Regions from separate parts of the Homo sapiens genome. Here region 2 is linked to region 1. Evidence: promoter capture Hi-C in 16 types of primary human blood cells and fetal thymus (Javierre and others, 2016). All regions are on one chromosome and are shown on one strand. The core of a region is centred on a gene start or on the middle of the fragment in contact, and the rest is flanking DNA. Distances in the headings are between cores, read along the strand shown. Region 1 holds the start of NUDT16 (nudix hydrolase 16). Region 2 overlaps NPHP3 (nephrocystin 3).

Region 1 (4,518 bases), core at 753-3,252:
CCTGGTTATTAGTTACCTAAAACATATTTTAAAAACCGCATATGTCCCTGTAGGACCCCATACATTCTGATTCAACTGGTCTGTGGTAGGAAAAAGTGGCAGCTTTTAAAAATTTTTAGAAGCTTTTTGCGAGGTGACTCTAATGTTAAAGCAGGGCTATTTCCAAACCCCCTGGAACTCTAGCAGGCCAGTGACAATTGTATCACACCTACAGACTCATCACTTTAATGCAGTTGCTTCATGTTATTAGATAATATCCCTGCCCCACAACGCAGAAGACTAAGCTAGGAAAGATGATGTCATACAGCTCATCCCTCCTTCAAACACTGGAGCGTGATGAGTGCAGCTCAGTTCCAACACTTGGGTCTTTATTTATTATTATTATTTTTTGTAGAGACGGGGTCTCGCTATGTTGCCCAGACTGGTCTCAAATTCATGACCTTGAATGATCCTCTCACCTCGCCTCTCACAGTGCTGGGATTATAGGTATGTGCCCAGCCCTGGCTCCTCAACGTAAGACATAGCACTGTGCCCCAACCCTCAACTCCAAGAATGGCTACATTTACTTTCTGCCTGGCACTGTTCTAAGTGCCTAACATATCTCAACATCCCTAATAGGTTGGTATCATCTCCACTTAACAGATGAGCTGCTGGGATCTGAGAGAGTTAAGTGACTTGTTAAGGTCACAAACCTGTTTCTGGGTGGGTCCGGACTCTTTCCCACCATATGCCGTCACTTACAGGCTGTGAGTTTATGCCCAGCCCCCCTCAAGGAGCTGCCTCCTGCTTTCTATTGCATAATCAATATCGACACCTGGTGTAGGGGCGCTCTGCAGGGTGGGGAAGGCCTGGCCTGGAGTGAGGGATCCTGCATCTCAGCATCAGGCCCTGAGTAGGCCTCTGCCCTTGTGGTAGGGTAACCCACCCTCCTTCATAGCTCAGAGGTCTGAGGGGGTTTGAGGGAAAGACTAGAAAGCCTAGGAGGCTTCTTCTATCTCTCACCCCTCCTCACTCCCAGTCCTGTGCCACAGGATTTCACTCACAGCTCCTTCCACCCCCACCCTTCCCCTGAAAATCTCACTGCCCTGTGACTTCTCTATGTGCCACTCCCTGTGCGTCAGACCCCCACGATCAGCTGCCCACTGCCTATGGCCACCCCAATTCCTTAGAACTACACTTATCACTGCTCACCCTTCTCCTACTCTCCCCCTCTCAGAAAATGACACCACATCCAGGAAACTCGGAACCACCACTAGCCCAGCGCTCCCTCTTCCCCATTCACTCAGTCACCAAGTCCCCTCAATTTCACCACTCAAGATAGTTGTCAGACCATGGCGCCTGTCCATCTCCATTTCCCTAGGATAGGCCTTGGTGTCTGAGGCCAACCCTGCCTCATTTCCTCCTAACCCCCACCCAGGCCTTGTGCTTTGTGTACCACCACACCCAACCAAAGGTAGTTATTACTTCTTTGGCTCCCAGCACTCAACTGAGCGCCCCAGCTCTTCCTCACCTGCCGGGACACTCCAGCTGACTCCAGATTGCGACGCAGGCGTTTACGTACCAGCCTTTCTCCAGGTTCAGGGCGCTGCCACATCTTCAGCCCCGACCCGCCGCAAGTCTCATTTCCTCCTAACCCCAACCCAGGCCTTGTGCTTTGTGTACCACCGAACCCAACCAAAGCTAGTTCCCTGACTTGCTCTTTTGGCTCCCAGGAGCCTTTAGGTACCGGCCTTGCGCCAGGTTTAGGGCGCGGCCACACCTCTAGCCCCGCCCCACCGCAGGCCCAACCCAGAGGCTGCTTTCGGTTACCCTAGGGTTCCTGGGCCCTGGACTTCAACCCGGTCTGCAAGCCCCGCCCTGATTAGCTGCCTCCCGCACCGGTCGCGGCGCCCCGCCCCCAGGCGCCTAGGTTCCTCCCCTTATCCCTGCAGGGATTGGGCCTTGCAGCACCGCCCAGGCTCGGATTGGTCCGAGGTGAGACCCGCCCCTCTGCCCATTGGGCCTTCGGGACAGCAGAGGAGCAGTGTCCGGCCATGGCCGGAGCCCGCAGGCTGGAGCTAGGCGAGGCCCTGGCGCTGGGGTCGGGCTGGCGTCATGCGTGCCACGCTCTCCTCTACGCGCCGGACCCTGGGATGCTCTTCGGCCGCATCCCGCTGCGCTACGCCATACTGGTGAGAAGGGGGCGCGCCCGGCCACTTTCTGCCTGAGCCCCGCACCCTCTCTGGTGGTCTCCTCTGGGGCGCCCCTGCCAATCCCCGCTTCCCCCTCCCGCAGATGCAGATGCGCTTCGATGGACGCCTGGGCTTCCCCGGCGGATTCGTGGACACGCAGGACAGAAGCCTAGAGGACGGGCTGAACCGCGAGCTGCGCGAGGAGCTGGGCGAAGCGGCTGCCGCTTTCCGCGTGGAGCGCACTGACTACCGCAGCTCCCACGTCGGGTCAGGGCCACGCGTTGTGGCCCACTTCTATGCCAAGCGTCTGACGCTCGAGGAGCTGTTGGCTGTGGAGGCCGGCGCAACACGCGCCAAGGACCACGGGCTGGAGGTGGGACCAGCCTGGGACTCTGTCCCTTTCCCAATTTCCTCTTCTCCCAAAGCTTTCTCTCCCCCAAGAAAGCATCCCTGGAGAAAAGTCTTTGCCCCTCTGACCTTGCCCTCTCCCCAGCTTTCTTGGTGGAGTTGGGATCGTGATCATCTATACTCTGAATTAGTACTGCCAACCTGGGCTTTCTGTAAAGGTCTTTCCCACCCTTTACCAGGAGAGATCCTTTCTAGAACACACTCATCCATGTCTCTCTGCTGTTCCCTATTGACAGTGTGATAGATTATCACATTATCTAGGTGTGGCAACCTAGGTTTTATTCTTGGGGTTTGCTTTTCTTGTGTAGGAGATGTGGCCCTGATATTTCAGGCAGGGCTAGTAGATAGATTATGTATGAAGGTGGTTCTCAAAATTTGGCAGGTAGCAGAATCATCGGGGCGTCTTATTAAAATAGCGATTTCTCTCAGCATTCCTGCATTGGTGGTGGGGCGGGGGGAGAGGAAACCTGAGAATTTGTAGTTTTCAAAAGTTCCCAAATAATGCTGATGCAAATAATCTGAGGACCACATTTTGACAACCACTGGTGAAAGGGTATGAATACATCTTTGAGGCAGTAGCCACTAGAGGTTTAGAAGCAGATGTGGGAAAGATTAATTGATAGAGCTAGATAATATGTTTTGGGTCATTTTCCTGCAGAAGGTTGGGCCACTAGGCTTTAGTGAGGTGTGAGCCTTGGGCCTGGTTCTGCTGGAGTATTAAGGGGTGAGGCCTGATCTGCTGGAGAAAGGATGGAGTTAAGGGAATGAGCCACCTGGGGCCCTAGTGTCTCCTGTCTCCTTCCTTTTACAGGTGCTGGGCCTGGTGCGAGTGCCCCTGTATACCCTGCGGGATGGTGTAGGAGGCCTGCCTACCTTCCTGGAGAATTCCTTTATTGGCTCTGCGCGGGAGCAGTTACTTGAAGCTCTCCAGGACTTGGGACTGCTGCAGTCTGGCTCTATTTCAGGCCTTAAGATTCCAGCTCATCACTAGAGGCAGCCCTCCATGGACCCATGAAAACTGAGATGAGGACCTTGGTACTAGGGAGGGAGGGAAGGACGTGGGAATGTTTTCTTATTGGATCTGAGAGATGATACATGATACCAGATGAAAAGAAGGAGAAGTGTGTACCATATGTTTTGAGCAGAGGACCCTCCAACTTATGGCATCAGGGGCAAAAAGTCACAGCTTATCCCAGGCACCCTGGCAGGTTCTCAGAGCCTGCCTCCTCCCTGTTTATATGCGTACAGCCTGGTAACCCCCAGGCATGCAAATATACAATCTGTAACAACACACAGCCTGACACCTTCCCCTGGTCATGTCCAGTTTAACCTTGAAGTGGCATTTGTCACACTACCCTGGTCCCTGATTGCAAGGAGCTTCTGAAGCAAGGGTGAATCCTTCCCACACTCCTCCATGGTTGCCCTCCAGGGTCTAGCCCAGCCTATTTGTTAGGGAGGATAGAGAAACAGAGCACCCCCTGTGCTTTCTGAAAATAGACTTGCTCTTGTCTTGAGTGGTGACCAAAGCAGTTGGCTCTTAAAAGGTGGGAGAGCAGCCCAACCAATCCCCAATCCTTTTCTTCTGAAACTGAGCAGGAAGGGTAAGGAAGTGGCTAGGTCTCCTTGGACTGAGCATGGACATGAGTCCTGTGAGGACTGGTGTCTCTCCTCTAGAGCTTTCATCTTTGGGATGCCTGAGACTCCGAGACTATCAGAAGGGAATTGACCCACCCCAGTCTAGCACCACCCTGCCTTCACTTCATCTACATAAAGGTGGTATAAAAACATAGACTGGAGGAGGTAATCCATGGAGAGAGAAAAAGAAGAGGGCTCAGGACAAGGCCCTGAGGAGGCCCAATCCTAAAAGTTTGGGCAGAGGGAACCAGGCACGTTAAAGAAGACAGAAAGCGGACTATGCAGAGTGCTTGTGAGGGTTTCA
Region 2 (4,494 bases), core at 245-2,744, 1.3 Mb after region 1:
TCTGAAGGAAAAAACCTCAAAGGCAGACTGTTACTAACACACATAAATATAAAAATATTCATAATTTATTAGGACATAAACTCTTTGCAGCAGGAAGTACCTCCTTCTCAACCTCCTAGAGCAACAAAATTAATGTCTGAATCAATAGCTACTTATGAACATGATGATTTTCTAATCAATTATATTTGTCAGAATATCTACATCCTTGATAACCTTAAGTAAATGGTTATTTGAGCTAAATCTCTGGCAAAACTGAGCTTACTATTTGTAGCTCTTTGAATCTCACATGGGTGACATTCCCCCTCAAGTGTTCCTTCTTCATGTTTAAAACAAAAATGAAAAAAGACCTAGAAAGGAATTTGTTTCTAACTTGCCAAGACAATTACAATAGTTTTGAAACACTGTACATTTGAGTATGTCAATACTGAAATAATCACTAAGACTTGTGTTGGGGTATAAAAGAGCATTTTCTCAGCTACTCTTGGCCATTAAGAATCTTTTTTTTTTTTTTTTTTTTTTTTTGAGATGAGTCTGGCTCTGTTGCCACACTGGAGTGCGGTGGCGCGATCTTGGCTCACTGCAACCTCCACCTCCTGGGTTCAAGTGATTTTCCTGCCTCAGCCTCCCGAGTAGCTGGGACTACAGGCACGCACCACCATGCCCAGCTAATTTTTGTATTTAGTAGAGACGGGGTTTCACCATGTTGGCCAGGATGGTCTTGATCTTTTGACCTCGTGATCCGCCCGCCTTGGCCTCCCAAAGTGCTGGTATTACAGGCATAAGCCACCGTGCCCGGCCTTCATTTTTTTTCCTTAAAAGTTAGCAATAAAAATTCCAGGATGTTGGTCAGATTCCAATGATACTACAATGAAAATTAAGAAGGAACTGTCAGTTACCATATTTTACTCCAAAATGCATCCATTTGTGAGAATATACTTACAGTTCATTACAAATGGGAGAGTGACTACATTTTTCCACTGCATTTTAAAATAGAATATTTTTCTTTTTTCAGTATCAATCACACTTTAACATTTTCTTAGAATATGTAAACCCTTTCACTCTGTGATTTCAAGCTTTTATTTCCAGAAAACATGTTTCATTTGTTTAATTATAAAACAAATACTTTTTGAATAGTTCACAAGGCTATACTGGAAACCACTCAGTGAACTATAAGGCAAGTATTCTAAATGATAGTTGCAAAGAATACATCATTATGTAAAGAAATAACATTGCAGAGACTAGTAACTCCAATATCCATTCTCCTCTTCTTTCTTCAGTAACAGAACACTACATTTTAGTTGGACACATGTCTGCCTGGCTGCTGATTACACTATCCAGTCTTCCCAGTTATAGTTCTGACTAATGGGATTTGAGAAGTGATCTTAGGTTGTACCTTCTGGGAAAGGAACGTGTTCTCCCCTTCCTTCTTTCCCTTGGCTAAAATGCAGATGTGCTGGTGGGAGCTGGGGTAGATATCTTAGACTAGAGAGTAAAAGTTATGGGTTAGGGTTGGCAGAGTGACAAGGTAGAAGGAACTTCAGTCCCCAAATTCATACACTTCGTGGAGAAGAGGTGTCTTAGCAGCTGACAGAGAGAACACACGACACTATTTGCAACAGTAGTTAAAGCAATAACCTAATATAGATAAGTAAAAGAAATCTAGCAGAATTCAAAGTTGGCTCTACATGTCATTACAGCCATGTTGAAAGCTCAAAATATAAATAGGATATACACTTACCAGTGACATCTGTACAGTTGTCATCTGAATCAGACTCCCCAGGATCAAATACTTGGATACCCTGAGCCTGTAGCCTCTGAAGTTTGCTCTCCAACTCCCTCTTGGCCCTCAGTAAGTCCTGAATTTCATTTTCTTTGGTCTCCCTAAAAATCTTTAAAAAGAATAATTTTAATGTTGAAAGCTTTTTCATAATCAAAAAGTTGTGTCATCAACTTTAAGGGAAAAATATTTCATTCATAAAACCAATATTCATTTGGTCCTCGATTTCCTCTTTCATAGGGTGAATGTCCTAGTACCTTTACCTTACTGTTTTGCAACTGGAAGCCACTGGAATTCCAGCAGGATGCGTGTCTGTGGTGTGGGTCTGTCATGTGCACTGCATGATGTTTAGGAAATTTGTCTCTCTCCCACTAAATACCAATAATACAACATCCCTAAACATTTCCAAATGCTTTTCCCCATATGGAAACGCTTTCCTTTTTTTCGAAATTACTATTAAAATGTTCACTTTCATACGTTTTTCTTTGAAATGATCTCAAGTTTACCACGTCCAACTCAAAAATGTGAAAGTGCTCTACACTAATTCTTACAACTTTCCTGAATCCTACATGACTTACTTCTATTTATTCATCGCATTATATATTATATATACTTTTAGAATATACTATTTTATTCTATGTTGCTTTGGGGGTAAAAATGTAAGGAATTTACCTTGAATTGCCTTTTAACTTTATCTCTGTCATGTTCAAATGTTGCTGCTCTCTCCATTGCTTGGTATTTCGCTTCTAAAGCACTTTCTTTTTCTCGAAGTATCTTCTGATACGTTTTTTGAAGTGCCTAGAATAATTTACCTTGTTATTTCCTAACAAAAATAGTCTTGCTCCTCAATTTTACATTCTTATATATATACATATATATATATATATGTTACGTATCTTAGAATTTTAAGTCTACTTATTATTTTACCAATTATCAGGAACTTCATGTTGCCATTTTATTCAAAACATGATGGAAAAAAACCGCAACCATGCTTGAACTACCACAAATAAAGACCAACATTAAGCTTTCAATGGAAATTAACTTTTTTTGAAACACTGCATCAGCTCTTAAACTTCCTTATGCCTTTTCCATCTTTGTGATAGTAAAAATTACATTTTGTAAGGCTTAACTTGAAGGATAAGTAGTTCTAAGAGACTGTGTGCCTGTTGGCACTATGTCTTATTCATCTCACCATCCCTTGAGCACTTCACAGTGCCTGGTACACTGCAAGTCTCCAGTAAATGTCTGACACAATGAATGAAATAAATATGGATAAGTTTTTTCATGCCTCGATATGTGAGAAAGGAACCAGTATGTTTCACAGGGAATCAGGATTGGTGACATGAGTGACTGTGACACTTGCCAACCCTTATTGCACTCCGCCCTGTTTGGTTTGGCCTTTTCTACCCCCACCTCACAGTTGTTTCCAACGTGCGGTGTCTGTTGGGCAGTGGCTTGGATACATTGAATCAGATATTTGAAATGCACTAGTCCATTTTATACATGCAAGTGCATTAAGGTTGCCCAGTAGGAAAACTGATAAGACAACAGATAAACTGCTACACGGACTTCTTCCCAGACAACGACAATAATTACACAACAGCTAATGAGGGAGTTTAAAAACAAAAACAACAACAACAACAACAACAAAACCTGACTAGAAGAATGTCTAGTCTTGAAGACAGGAGGCTTTTTTTCTTTTAGAAAAATCAGTCTGAGGTATTTATTTCACCCCGACTGTAACGACTCCGGGAACTCTTAGGCTGCCTATAAGTCTCTCCCACAGTAAAGAGTACACAAACGACACAACAACGACCAGAGGGGCCCCAAACTGAGGGCAAAAAGTTTTAGAGATTCGTTCACAGAAAAGCAACCTCTTGCTTTATACTATTTTTTTTTTTTTGATACGGAGTCTCGCTCTGTCACCCAAGCTGGAGTGCAATGGTGCAATCTCGGCTCACTGCAACCTCCGCCTCCCGGGTTCAAGCAATTCTCTTGCCTCAGCCTCCTGAGTAGCTGGGATTACAGGCGCGTGCCACCATGCCCGGCTAATTTTTGTATTTTTAGTAGAGACGGGGTTTCACCATGTTGGCCAGGCTGATCTCGAACTCCTGACCTCAGGTGATCCGTCCGCCTAGGCCTCGAAAAGTGTTGGGATTACAGGCGTGAGCCACCACGCCCGGCTGCTTTACATACTATTTTATTGAATTATAATGGACCTGCTACATGGAGGGCATGCAATAATTGCTTTTAGCGTAAATTAATCAAATGGACTAGGGAAATTTGACTACATCTAGAGAAGGTTTTCAACCATGGTGAGATCAGGAGGCTTCCAGAAATTTTCATGTCAAGACCATTAAAATGCAAGAGCGATGAAACTTTACAAAGAAACCGACACTTGAGCCCCACTTTGGAGACCCACTTAAAATTTTTATGGTGGGGAGGGGGGTGAAACTCCTAGGAAGAGTTTGCTGAGTTGCTTCAACAGATGTCACCAGCCTTCTGAGGGGGTGGGCGCGGGGGCGGCAGTGGAGCTGGAGATTGGCATTTGCCTCCTCAGGACACTTTCCGGCTAATTTCTTCTAGGTGCCTCAATGAATAAACCAGAAATAGAAAAGCGGGGACCAGGCGCGGTGGCTCACTCCTGTAATCCCAGAACTTTAGGAGGCCGAGGCGGGAGGATCATTGAGCCCAGGAGTTCCAGGTTGCAGTGAGCC

The links. The method cuts DNA at HindIII sites, captures the fragments that hold promoters and counts their contacts. A CHiCAGO score of 5 or more calls a contact.
Region 2: a fragment that was not itself captured here is called in contact with the fragment with the promoter of NUDT16 in region 1 in 1 of 17 cell types (total B cells); the score reaches 5.5 in total B cells.

The regions. Positions count from the first base shown.
Region 1 is chr3:131,379,772-131,384,289 of GRCh38, forward strand. NUDT16 (nudix hydrolase 16) reads left to right here and starts at 2,003. Exons shown (of 3, transcript NM_152395.3): 1 at 2,003-2,171; 2 at 2,275-2,544; 3 at 3,391-4,518. The coding sequence starts at 2,034. The coding sequence ends at 3,570. It overlaps NUDT16-DT (NUDT16 divergent transcript), which reads right to left and starts at 1,704. Exons shown (of 4, transcript NR_038976.1): 1 at 1,562-1,704. RefSeq lists enhancers at 1,312-1,581, 1,873-2,442, 2,443-3,011 and a silencer at 1,692-1,991. The HindIII fragment of the contact is 2,474 bases long and covers 121-2,594 here.
Region 2 is chr3:132,717,256-132,721,749 of GRCh38, forward strand. It overlaps NPHP3 (nephrocystin 3), which reads right to left. Exons shown (of 27, transcript NM_153240.5): 2 at 2,450-2,575; 3 at 1,739-1,889. It overlaps NPHP3-ACAD11 (NPHP3-ACAD11 readthrough (NMD candidate)), which reads right to left. Exons shown (of 45, transcript NR_037804.1): 2 at 2,450-2,575; 3 at 1,739-1,889. Among named protein-coding and RNA genes, the nearest start is that of NPHP3-AS1, 2.2 kb to the right of the region's middle. The HindIII fragment of the contact is 846 bases long and covers 1,072-1,917 here.